Linked DNA regions of Homo sapiens: all the other regions are linked to region 3. Evidence: promoter capture Hi-C in 16 types of primary human blood cells and fetal thymus (Javierre and others, 2016). All regions are on one chromosome and are shown on one strand. Each heading gives the region's core, a stretch centred on a gene start or on the middle of the fragment in contact. The rest is flanking DNA. Distances are from core to core; before and after follow the strand shown.

Evidence for each region. The method cuts DNA at HindIII sites, captures the fragments that hold promoters and counts their contacts. A CHiCAGO score of 5 or more calls a contact.
Region 1: a contact is called between a fragment that was not itself captured here and the fragment with the promoter of DPYSL5 in region 3, in 2 of 17 cell types (megakaryocytes and endothelial precursors). The highest score is 7.2, in megakaryocytes.
Region 2: a contact is called between a fragment that was not itself captured here and the fragment with the promoter of DPYSL5 in region 3, in 1 of 17 cell types (endothelial precursors). The highest score is 5.0, in endothelial precursors.

What each region holds. Positions count from the first base shown.
Region 1 is chr2:26,991,298-26,994,544 of GRCh38, forward strand. All of the region lies in intron 1 of MAPRE3 (microtubule associated protein RP/EB family member 3), which reads left to right. All of the region lies in intron 3 of MAPRE3-AS1 (MAPRE3 antisense RNA 1), which reads right to left. Among named protein-coding and RNA genes, the nearest start is that of MAPRE3-AS1, 22 kb to the right of the region's middle. The HindIII fragment of the contact is 3,116 bases long and covers 1-3,104 here.
Region 2 is chr2:27,034,934-27,038,047 of GRCh38, forward strand. It overlaps TMEM214 (transmembrane protein 214), which reads left to right. Exons shown (of 17, transcript NM_017727.5): 3 at 202-352; 4 at 661-795; 5 at 1,037-1,119; 6 at 1,554-1,659; 7 at 1,772-1,853; 8 at 2,144-2,245; 9 at 2,628-2,769. Among named protein-coding and RNA genes, the nearest start is that of TMEM214, 3.5 kb to the left of the region's middle. The HindIII fragment of the contact is 4,998 bases long and covers 1-3,114 here.
Region 3 is chr2:26,846,185-26,849,403 of GRCh38, forward strand. It overlaps DPYSL5 (dihydropyrimidinase like 5), which reads left to right and starts at 1,948. Exons shown (of 13, transcript NM_020134.4): 1 at 1,948-2,070. The HindIII fragment of the contact is 4,603 bases long and covers 1-3,219 here.

The sequences.
Region 1 (3,247 bases), core at 297-2,796, 140 kb after region 3:
CAGTCCCAGGGGAGGTCGGGTCTGCCACTGAGGTACAGCCTGTGGTCAGTTGGTATGTCTGGTCCTAGTGGAAAGACAATAGCAGGAAGGAAGTGATAGTGGTGGCTGGACCAATACTGCCTACAGCCTCACCACAAAAGAAACAGTTTGGTGGTGGTGATAGGGAGAAGAGGACTTTGTTGGTGACAATTGGCTACAAATGGTCTGTGGGTCACTGCCGCTTGCTTTCTCAAATCCCTACTCCAGTTCTATCAGCTGTGTCTGCCTGCCCCGAGGTAGTCCCTACTCTTTTTCTAAACAATAGAATTCCACATTCATTTTATAGAGCCCCACATAAATAAAAGAAATTGGCCTATTTTCACACAGTTTATCTCCTTTCTATTTCCATCCCTTCAGAATCCTGTAATCATGAGATTGCCTAAATGGTCTCTCTGGAAGGCCCTGGCAACGTCTAGGCACGCATCCTGTCTTGCATTTGTAGATCAGATTCTCAGACTCCAAATTGGGCCAGATGTAAATGGGTAACAACTGTCTGTGTTCTCTCTATCCCACTAAAAGCATCGGGCATTCCTCCTCTCCTTCTCTTATTGAAATAACTTGCGTAAATCATGCTAGACTTTGCACCTTGACCTCCTTAGGCCACACGTGGAAATTGATTCCCTGCCTTTCACCACCACCACCACACACTCATATACTTTGTGCCAGATTCCTAAGAGAGATTGAATGTGTATAATTTTTTAATCTCATGATTTTGGAAAATCAGAAACTGTTACTACTCCATAACTAAGGGAGAAGAATAAAAGAGGTATGTTCATATTTATTATATTTATATCTAAGTGCTATAGCAATACCTTTTGACAAAAATATACTTTTAAAGTCACATTTTAGGAGAAGCGTAGTACTCATTCTCACTGACTAATGTTACCAGATAATTTTTTTTTTTTTTGAGATGGAGTTTCGCTCTTGTTGCCCAGGCTGGAGTGCAGTGGTACGATCTCATCTCACTGCAGCCTCCACCTCCCTGGTTCAAGCGATTCTCCTGCCTCAGCCTCCCAAGTAGCTGGGTTTACAGGCATGCACCACCACGCCTGGCTAATTTTGTAATTTAGTAGAGATGGGGTTTCTCCACATTGATCAGGCTGGTCTTGAACTCCCGACGTCAGGTGATCCACCCGCCTCAGCCTCCCAAAGTGCTGGGATTACAGGCATGAACCACTGCACCCGGCCCAGATAATTTTTTTTTTTTTTTTTAATCCTGACCTATACTAAGAGTTTGGAATGGATATTTGAGGGGAGGAGAAGACAGGTCACTCAGCAAACATGAAGCACCTACTTCAGCCATGCTTTGGAATTTAAAAATGACAAATGTAAGATACTGCCTCATCCCTGCCCTTGAATTCATGTTATAGTTTTAACACACCCCACTGCAATCATGAAATGTGGTATACATTCCATAAAACTAGAATCAAATAGGATCAATTGCATCTTACTCATTGATATCCTTGTGAAGACTGTGTAGGCCAGAAGTGAGAAGATGATTTGAAACCCTTCTGTTTCCTACATGGAGTGTTGATTCTGTATAATGTGTTGCTTCTCTCCTGAGAAATCCAGTGTTCTGTTTTATTTCCTATTGCACATGTTGTACTTCCATGCCCTTTTTATATTCTGCTACTTTCCCTAGTTTCAGTTTAGTCATAGGGATTGTATAGCTCCCACTTTTCCTTTCTCTGGAAATACCATGCATGTTTTAACTGGAAGACCCTGATGAGGTAAAATATTAGGACGTTATTAGCCAGGCGCAGTGGCTCACCCCTGTAATCCCAGCACTTTGGAAGCCAAGGTGGGCAGGTCACCTGAGGTCAGGAGTTTGAGACTAGCCTGGCCAACATGATGAAACCCCATCTCTACTAAAAATACAAAAACTTAGCCGGGAGTGGTGGTGCACACCTGTAATCCCTGCTACTCGGGAGGCTGAGGCAGGAGAGTTGCTTGAACCCAGGAGGTGGAGATTGCAGTAAGCCGAGATTGCGCCACTGTACTCCAGCCTGGGCAACAAGAGTGGAACTCATCTCAAGAAAAATAAAAAAAATTAGGACATTATTAAAATAAAACCAGAAACTGGTTTGTTAAAGCTCCTTTCTTAACCATCTGTTCTATCATCAGTCACTTCAGGCTGTTTGGTGTCAAAATTACAGAGTCCCCCACCATATTACACCAGTTTCTCTACTTAGAGCTAAGTCCTTCTCCAGGTCACAGAAAGAAGTTGTTCCAGGGATAGAAAAAATTCCTGTTGAGGGAAAGTTCTGGGGAGGTCGGGAGGATGTGTAGCTCCTGCCTGATGTCCCTAACACTTCAGGTGGTGACTAAACTCTTGGTATGGATGTGACTCCCTCCCCATGAGATTGCCAGGTTGAAGACCAGCTGAGGAGTCATCTGCCCCCTTCTCAGCCTTACCAACTCGATTTTTGCTGGATTTAGGAAATAGGACAGTTCTGGTTCTTTATCCTACTACTGTAGGCCCTACTTGGCCATGACCATTGATTGTGTCCAAAAGTTCATGCCTGGCAGGAAAGCAAGAACTCATGATGGATGTCTTGAGAACCATGCTTCCTTGAGTAGGAGATGGCGCTCTCCCCCCAGACAGAGACTAATTGAGAAGACTGACATTAAGGAATGCTACCAGAATACCCCAGAATTTGACTTGAGCCCTAATCTTTGTGTGTGGGAGCTGTCCAACATTTCAGCATACTTTTGCATTTGCCTACTTTGAAAGAAACATGATAATAATCTGGCTGTCTTGACTGTTTTACTGTGTGCCATGTTCTGAGGAAACTGACACAATTCAGGATCTAGTCTCTCAGGTATTTTGATCTGATAACTTAATTATCAGCTTTTCTTGAGGTCACCAAGCCCTGAGAAAACTGACTTACATTTATTTGCTTAGGCACATTTGTACCAGAAAGTCAATTTAATAAATATACTTCTTCCCTGTATCATGGTGGCTTGAAAATCAGAAAGGTAATCAGAGCTTGATTTATAAGCATGAAATCAGAGCAAATACAGTTGGAAGTTAAGAAATTATGTGTTATCCACACCATGGTTCAAGCTTGATTAATTCTCCTCTCTCTACCAGAGGAGACATCATTCATCCTAGTGACCAGAATACCAATTCCAGCTAAGCAGAGTGGTCCATTGGACAGTGTTACAGTTGCACTAACATAGTTTTCCTTTCTAACTATCTTTTTCT
Region 2 (3,114 bases), core at 57-2,556, 190 kb after region 3:
ATCAGCATTTTCAGCTGTCCTGTTCCATTCTTAAAGATGTAGGTACAGCAGAATTGCAGCATTCCATGTTCTTATGCTTAAAAATGGAATCCCTTCTTCCTACTGCCACCTAGTTCAACCATTTTCCCACCCCTACCCCATTTCTTTACTCCCTCACTCACAACTCGCCATGGTGGGGGGTTGGGGGATTGTCCCTGGCAGCTGGATGTGGCAGACCTGCAGAAGGAACTGGACAAGAGCCAGAGTGTGTTCTCTGGAAACCCATCCATATGGTTGAAGGACCTGGCCAGCTATCTCAACTACAAGCTACAAGCTCCTCTAAGTGAACCCACGCTGAGCCAGCATACTCATGGTAAGTCCTTCCAGCTTCCTCAAGCTCAGACAAGTTCAAATAAATTCAAAAAGGGTGGTATAACAGATCCCAGTGCCCCACACTGTCCTGATTTCCATGGGTGATTTGGGCTGGTCTCAAATCATCGTGACTGTGAATGTTTCTGGGCCTCATTCTGTGATCCTCCCTCTGGGCCTCCTCAGAGGAAGGATCCCAGCCTCAGTGCAGGGGCCTTTGCCTCCACTCACCATTCCCAGGGAGAGCACCACAGTTCTCAGAGCTGATGGGTGTCTGGTCCTAGCACTCACATTGAGGCCTATGGGCCTTAGATTATCCCTACAGCCTGGTGAGCCGGGAGCTACGTGGGATCATCCGAGGGCTGCTGGCGAAGGCAGCAGGGTCTCTGGAGCTCTTTTTTGACCACTGTCTGTTCACCATGTTGCAAGAGCTGGATAAGACACCAGGTGAAAGGGGCACGGGAGGGATGACCATCTTGGGAGCCTCCTCCTTTTTTTCCTGCTTCCAGTACCACTCAGTGGTTCTGTTTCCAGCAGAGAAATGTGCTAACCTTAACACTTTTTGGAAAGTGTGGAGGAAGTTAGGAGTCAGTGGACCTGGGGCCTGGGCTCACCGCTGACAAATGGGAGATTTCAGGTTTGGGATGCCAAATAATGTGAGTAGGTGTGAGAATGTGTATCTCTCCAGGGGAGTCACTACATGGTTACCGCATCTGTATCCAGGCCATCCTGCAAGACAAGCCCAAGATTGCCACGGCAAACCTAGGCAAGGTGAGCTCTCAGTGATGGTGGGGATGCTAGGAAGCTAGGACTGGGGAGGCTGGGCAGAATCTATGTTGTTGGACTCAGGTTTGGGATAGTGGAAGACCTGTAAGCCTAGTAATAATGGGTAACACTATTAGCACCTATCCTGTGTGTGTGCTCTGGAAACATAGGAGCAAGGTACTGCTATTATTTCCCATTTTTATAGATGAAAAGATTGAGCCACAGAGGAGTTCAGTAACTTTCCTAGGCTCAGTCATCCAGTAAATGGCAGAGTATGGGCGAAGCCCACAAACAGAACCTGCACCACGTGGCCATAGTGCTCCACTCTTGCTCGGCCTGTCCTCCCTCTTCCAGTTGACATCTCCCTTCCCTCCTGGCTTTGGGGGGTGCTCCTGGTGTTTTGTCCTATCCCAATCTGCCTTCCCCACCGGTCTCCTCAGTTCCTGGAACTGCTGAGGTCCCACCAGAGCCGACCAGCAAAGTGTCTCACCATCATGTGGGCCCTGGGTCAAGCAGGTTTTGCCAACCTCACCGAGGGACTGAAAGGTAACAGGGAAATAGGGAAGAAAGAGGGAGGGTCTCGGAGCTGGAAAACTCCTCTTTGATGCCCCCAGTAGGTGCAAGCCTGAGGCCTCCCTCGTGACTTTTACCCCTGCAGTGTGGCTGGGGATCATGCTGCCTGTGCTGGGCATCAAGTCTCTGTCTCCCTTTGCCATCACATACCTGGATCGGCTGCTCCTGTGAGTAATGGGAGGGCAGCAAGGGGAAGGCTCAGGGTGTCCCAAGTGGCTGTTATAGCAAAATGGGAGGCTATGATCTTGGTCTCCATGGATATGAGGAAAATCAGGACCAGCTTCTCCCACCACCTTAGAATGTGATGGTGAGGAAGGAAGAAGAGGGAGCTATTAAGGGCTGGCAGATGGGGTAGAGTTTATACCCTTTTTCCTAGATGTTGGCTTAGCTGGGGTCATGGCCAAAACAGCTGGCATGGGTGGTGGTGTCCAGCGAGCCTGTTTCTTCATCCCCACAGGATGCATCCCAACCTTACCAAGGGCTTCGGCATGATTGGCCCCAAGGACTTCTTCCCACTTCTGGACTTTGCCTATATGCCGAACAACTCCCTGACACCCAGGTAGGACTGCTCTGGGGCACACCTGCTGAGAAGGGACCACAGCACCAGAACCACACTACATATTCCCGTCTCTCCTTCCCCAGCCATCCTAGATCTGAGATTTGCAACCTGGAAGTTCAAGAGTAGGTTTCAAGGGAACAGTGACCCCTTGAAATTATATGGACCCTTGAGTGTGATTGGCATATGGGCATTTTCTTAGGGATAGGGTCCATGGCTTTCAACAGATTTCCAAGGAGTCTCTGAGTAAAAAGATTCAGAGCCATTGCAAGGTCCTCAGTGGCTATTCCCCACAGGCAGGCATGGGCTCTGAAGCAAGCAAAAGGTTCATATCATACAGCTCCACTTATAGCTTATGCCTGTCTTTCCTCCCCACCCCACCCAGCCTGCAGGAGCAGCTGTGTCAGCTCTACCCCCGACTGAAAGTGCTGGCATTTGGAGCAAAGCCGGATTCCACCCTGCATACCTACTTCCCTTCTTTCCTGTCCAGAGCCACCCCTAGCTGTCCCCCTGAGATGAAGAAAGAGGTGAGGATATGGTGGGAGGCTTTTTCTCCTTCCCCAGGGGTCAGCTGTAGCGGTCCCTATCTGCTGACAAAGGCCTTGCCTTCACAGAGCCCATTCTGAGGCTTTTCCTTAGCTCCCTGTTGACAGCTGCCTGCCCCGCTCACTCGAGCTTCACCCTCAGAAGATGGATCCCAAGAGACAGCACATTCAGGTCTGGGTGGTTTCTGATGCCCGTCTCTTGCAGATAGTGATCTTTGAGCTCAAAGCTCTAGCTCAGGAGCCCCAGCCTCCTGCTTTACAGCCTCTCAGAGAGCTTTCTGGAGTCTTGACACTGTTTCTCCACCCCTTAGGGTGGATGTGCGGCCT
Region 3 (3,219 bases), core at 698-3,197:
GAAACTGAAGGAGCAAGGATTCCAACCCAGCAATGCGGGACTCCCAGCTCTGTGCTCTTTCTACTTCCCAGGAAACGGAGCCTAAGTTAGCAACAACAAACCGAAGTCGAGGACTGAGGACATATGCAACCCCCGGTTTGGGTGCAACCTTTATCAATATCCTAAACTGACAGATGACGTAGAGGCAGCCGTTTCGCTGACTAGGGAAGGTAGCCCAAGAAAGCTAAGATGCTAGAATCCAAATTTAAGGTCTACGAGACGCTGCAGAAAACATTTACAGTCACTAGAGGGCTCTCTCTCCCTTAAGCAAAAAGCGCAGCACCGCCCGCGCGCGGTAGTCTCGGAACCCCGCCGCCGGGAGGCCGCTGGCAGCTCCACGCCACCTCCCTGAAGCCCAGTCCATTTTGCCTACATCCCTGTCCGGGCAAGCCCTGGAGAATCCATAGGGCAGTGCCCCAAGCTGGAGCAGTTTTCACAGCCACATCCCGGGCTGCACTGGGTTAGGGATGCTTTGAGGTTCCTCTGGGGGCTCCCTGCTCTCTGCTTACCAAGCAGGCGGGAGTTGGGAAGGGGAGAAGGAGTGCAGACTCAGGGGTGGGGTAATCCAGAAATGCATCCCTCAAAGGCCAGCCTGGCCTGGTCCAGGCCCTAAGCTCTCTGGGGAAGGACGGCAGGGAACCCCGCCTTGGCGGGCTCTGCGGGTCCTGCGCCCGGGTAGATTTTGCTGAGATGGGGAGAGGGGACCCCCTCCACGCCCCCGGAGTAGTGAACACCATTTTGTTTGAAAGTATCCTGCAAAGAGAACCACCTCACGAGGCCATGGCTGCCAGGGGACTCCTCTCCCCACCGGATCGCCGGGGAGCCCGGGGAGGGAGGGATTCTGCAGCTGCAGCTTGGAGGTCCTTGATGCTGCATTTTAACGCGCATCGCAACGCCTTTGGAGTGACATTAAGTGCAAAGAGGCAAATGACTAATCCAAACTATTATTACAACTGCAGAAAATAACACAGATCAATGGCAAAGGCTTGAACCGGGATTAGCTAGGGAGGTGGGACAAACCGGGGATGATCCTTCCTCTCCTTTTTTAGATTTGTTTATTTTGGTAAATTATGTATGTATTTAAACATGAAGAAACAGGTGAAGCGAATGTAAATTGGGTTATAAATAATTTCCAAAGGCTTCGCTGTCCCTTGACAGAAGCCAGAAATAAGACAGGCACTGGGCCTGAGCGCTCTGGACAGGGAAGCACCCGCGTGGCGCTGGGCAAAATCTTCTCAGTGGAGAGAACGCACTCCGGGTTCGAGACCTCCCCGGGTGCAGATGCGAACTGCGGTGGCCCCAAGTGGCCGTCCACTTTGTTCATGAGAACAGTTTTCCTATAACGCCCACCCGGCCCTTTGCATCCCGCAATCCCGCGGGCGTCGGAGCGGGTCTTGGCGCGAACCAGGCGGCCTCGGCGGGGTCCTGCGGCGGAGGGCAGCGCGGCCGCAGCCCGGGAGAGGCGGCCGCGGCATTGTTTCAGCCCCTGGGGTGGGATCCAGCTGGGGGAGGGGAGGCGGGGTGTCCTCCGGAACCGCCCCCGGCCCTCCCTGGGGACCCGTGCCTCAGCGCGTCCAGGCTTTGTGGTGTCCTGAGTCGCCATGGAAACCCGAGGGAACGCGGAGCCGGGTGCTAGGGGGGTCGGTGAGTTCTCCGGCCGCGCCCTCCGTCCGCTCTCGGACCCCGGCCCTGCAGCAGGGCCTGCCGGGAGTTGTAGTCCCCAGGCGGCGGCGGCGCGCGGCGCCAAGGATGCGGGACGCCGCCTGTCCCCGCCTCCCCTTAACCTGCTAGCTGAGGTGGGGAGCGGCGGGAGGAGCCGGCCGCGCGGTGATTGGCGGAGGCCGCTCCCAGCCCCCGACACGCGCCCCTCCCCCGCTCCCCACTCTGGACTCCCGCGCTGGGCGCGCTGAGGCGGCCCCCGAGCGAGCGCGCGTGCAGCCGCCGCCGCCCCGAGCACCCGCAGCTCCGGCGCCGCGGCGAGACGGAGACGGACCGAGCCACGGGCCCCCGCGGCCGCAGCATCTCGGAGGAGTGGGTGATGGCAGGGGGGTCGGTGGGCTTACCCCTCCCGGGCTAGGACATCCTCCTCTCCCCCTTCTGTTTCTGCGTGAGGCGCACAAAAGGGCGGGGAGCCGGGTGAGCCTGGGGCCCGGCCGCAGGGGACGCGGCGGGAGGTGTGGTTTGGGGTTGGGAGGTGGCCATCGGGGCTAAGCCGGGGCGCTCTTGGGGTCCTCTTTGTACGCCCGCGAAGCGCCGTGCCGGGCCTTGCTCATAGTAAGCGTTTAATGCGTGCTCGCGGGGTTGCAAAGCCCTGGGGTGAGGAGGCGGCTCGGCCGAGGGGTTTCGCGCCTAGCACGCAGTGGGCCGCTTTCCTAGCCGGGCGCGGTGCAGTGGACCGCTGGAGGGCTGGGCGGGGGCGCCTCTGGCCGGGGGCCAGTCCTGCCGGTCCCAGGATCTGCGCTGTCCCCGGTCCCACACACCACCCAGATACACACCCTCCGTCCTTCTCGCCTCCGAGCTGGGATCTGCCCAGCCTGGACCCGACCCGGCGGTCTGTTCCACCGCCCGGCTAACGGAGCGGACGCCTGCAGAGGACTCGCCCGCCGCCTCCGAGCCTCCCGCCTGAGCCACAAAGGCCTCCTGCGGCTGCCCAGCCCGGAGCGGGCGCCGAGCCGGGTCCCTCGGCTGGAGCCCAGCGCGGGAGCCCGCCTTGCAGCATCGATCTCAGCGGGCACCGACGTCGACGCCCCGGGCCTGGGGACGGGGCTGTAGTCTGAGCTGGAGAGAAGCCGGGAGAGGGCGAGGGGAGGCCTCGGTTGAGAAAAGATGGGGATGGGGAAGGCTGGGGAGCTGGGTTAGGACAGGTAGTGGGTCTCGGGGAGCAGGGAGTGGGAACTAGGGTTTGAGGAGGAAAGAGAAGGGGCGGGGGCGGGTCCGAAGAACGAGGGAAGGAGCTCGGTGCAGGTGGCGCCCGGCGAGGCTGGTTCTGCTGAAGAATGGGGAGGGGAGGAGGGATGCAGGCGGGTGGAGGCCGCCTGGGTTTGAGGAGGGAGGACGGGAGCGAGGAGAAGACCCGCGCTGTGCGGGGGAGGGGGGCCTCCTGGGAAGGGGAGCCTCCCGAGGAGGGAGGGGCAAGCAGCTGAGAGGCGGTCTCGGGCCCGAGGATCCTCAGCTCCAGGC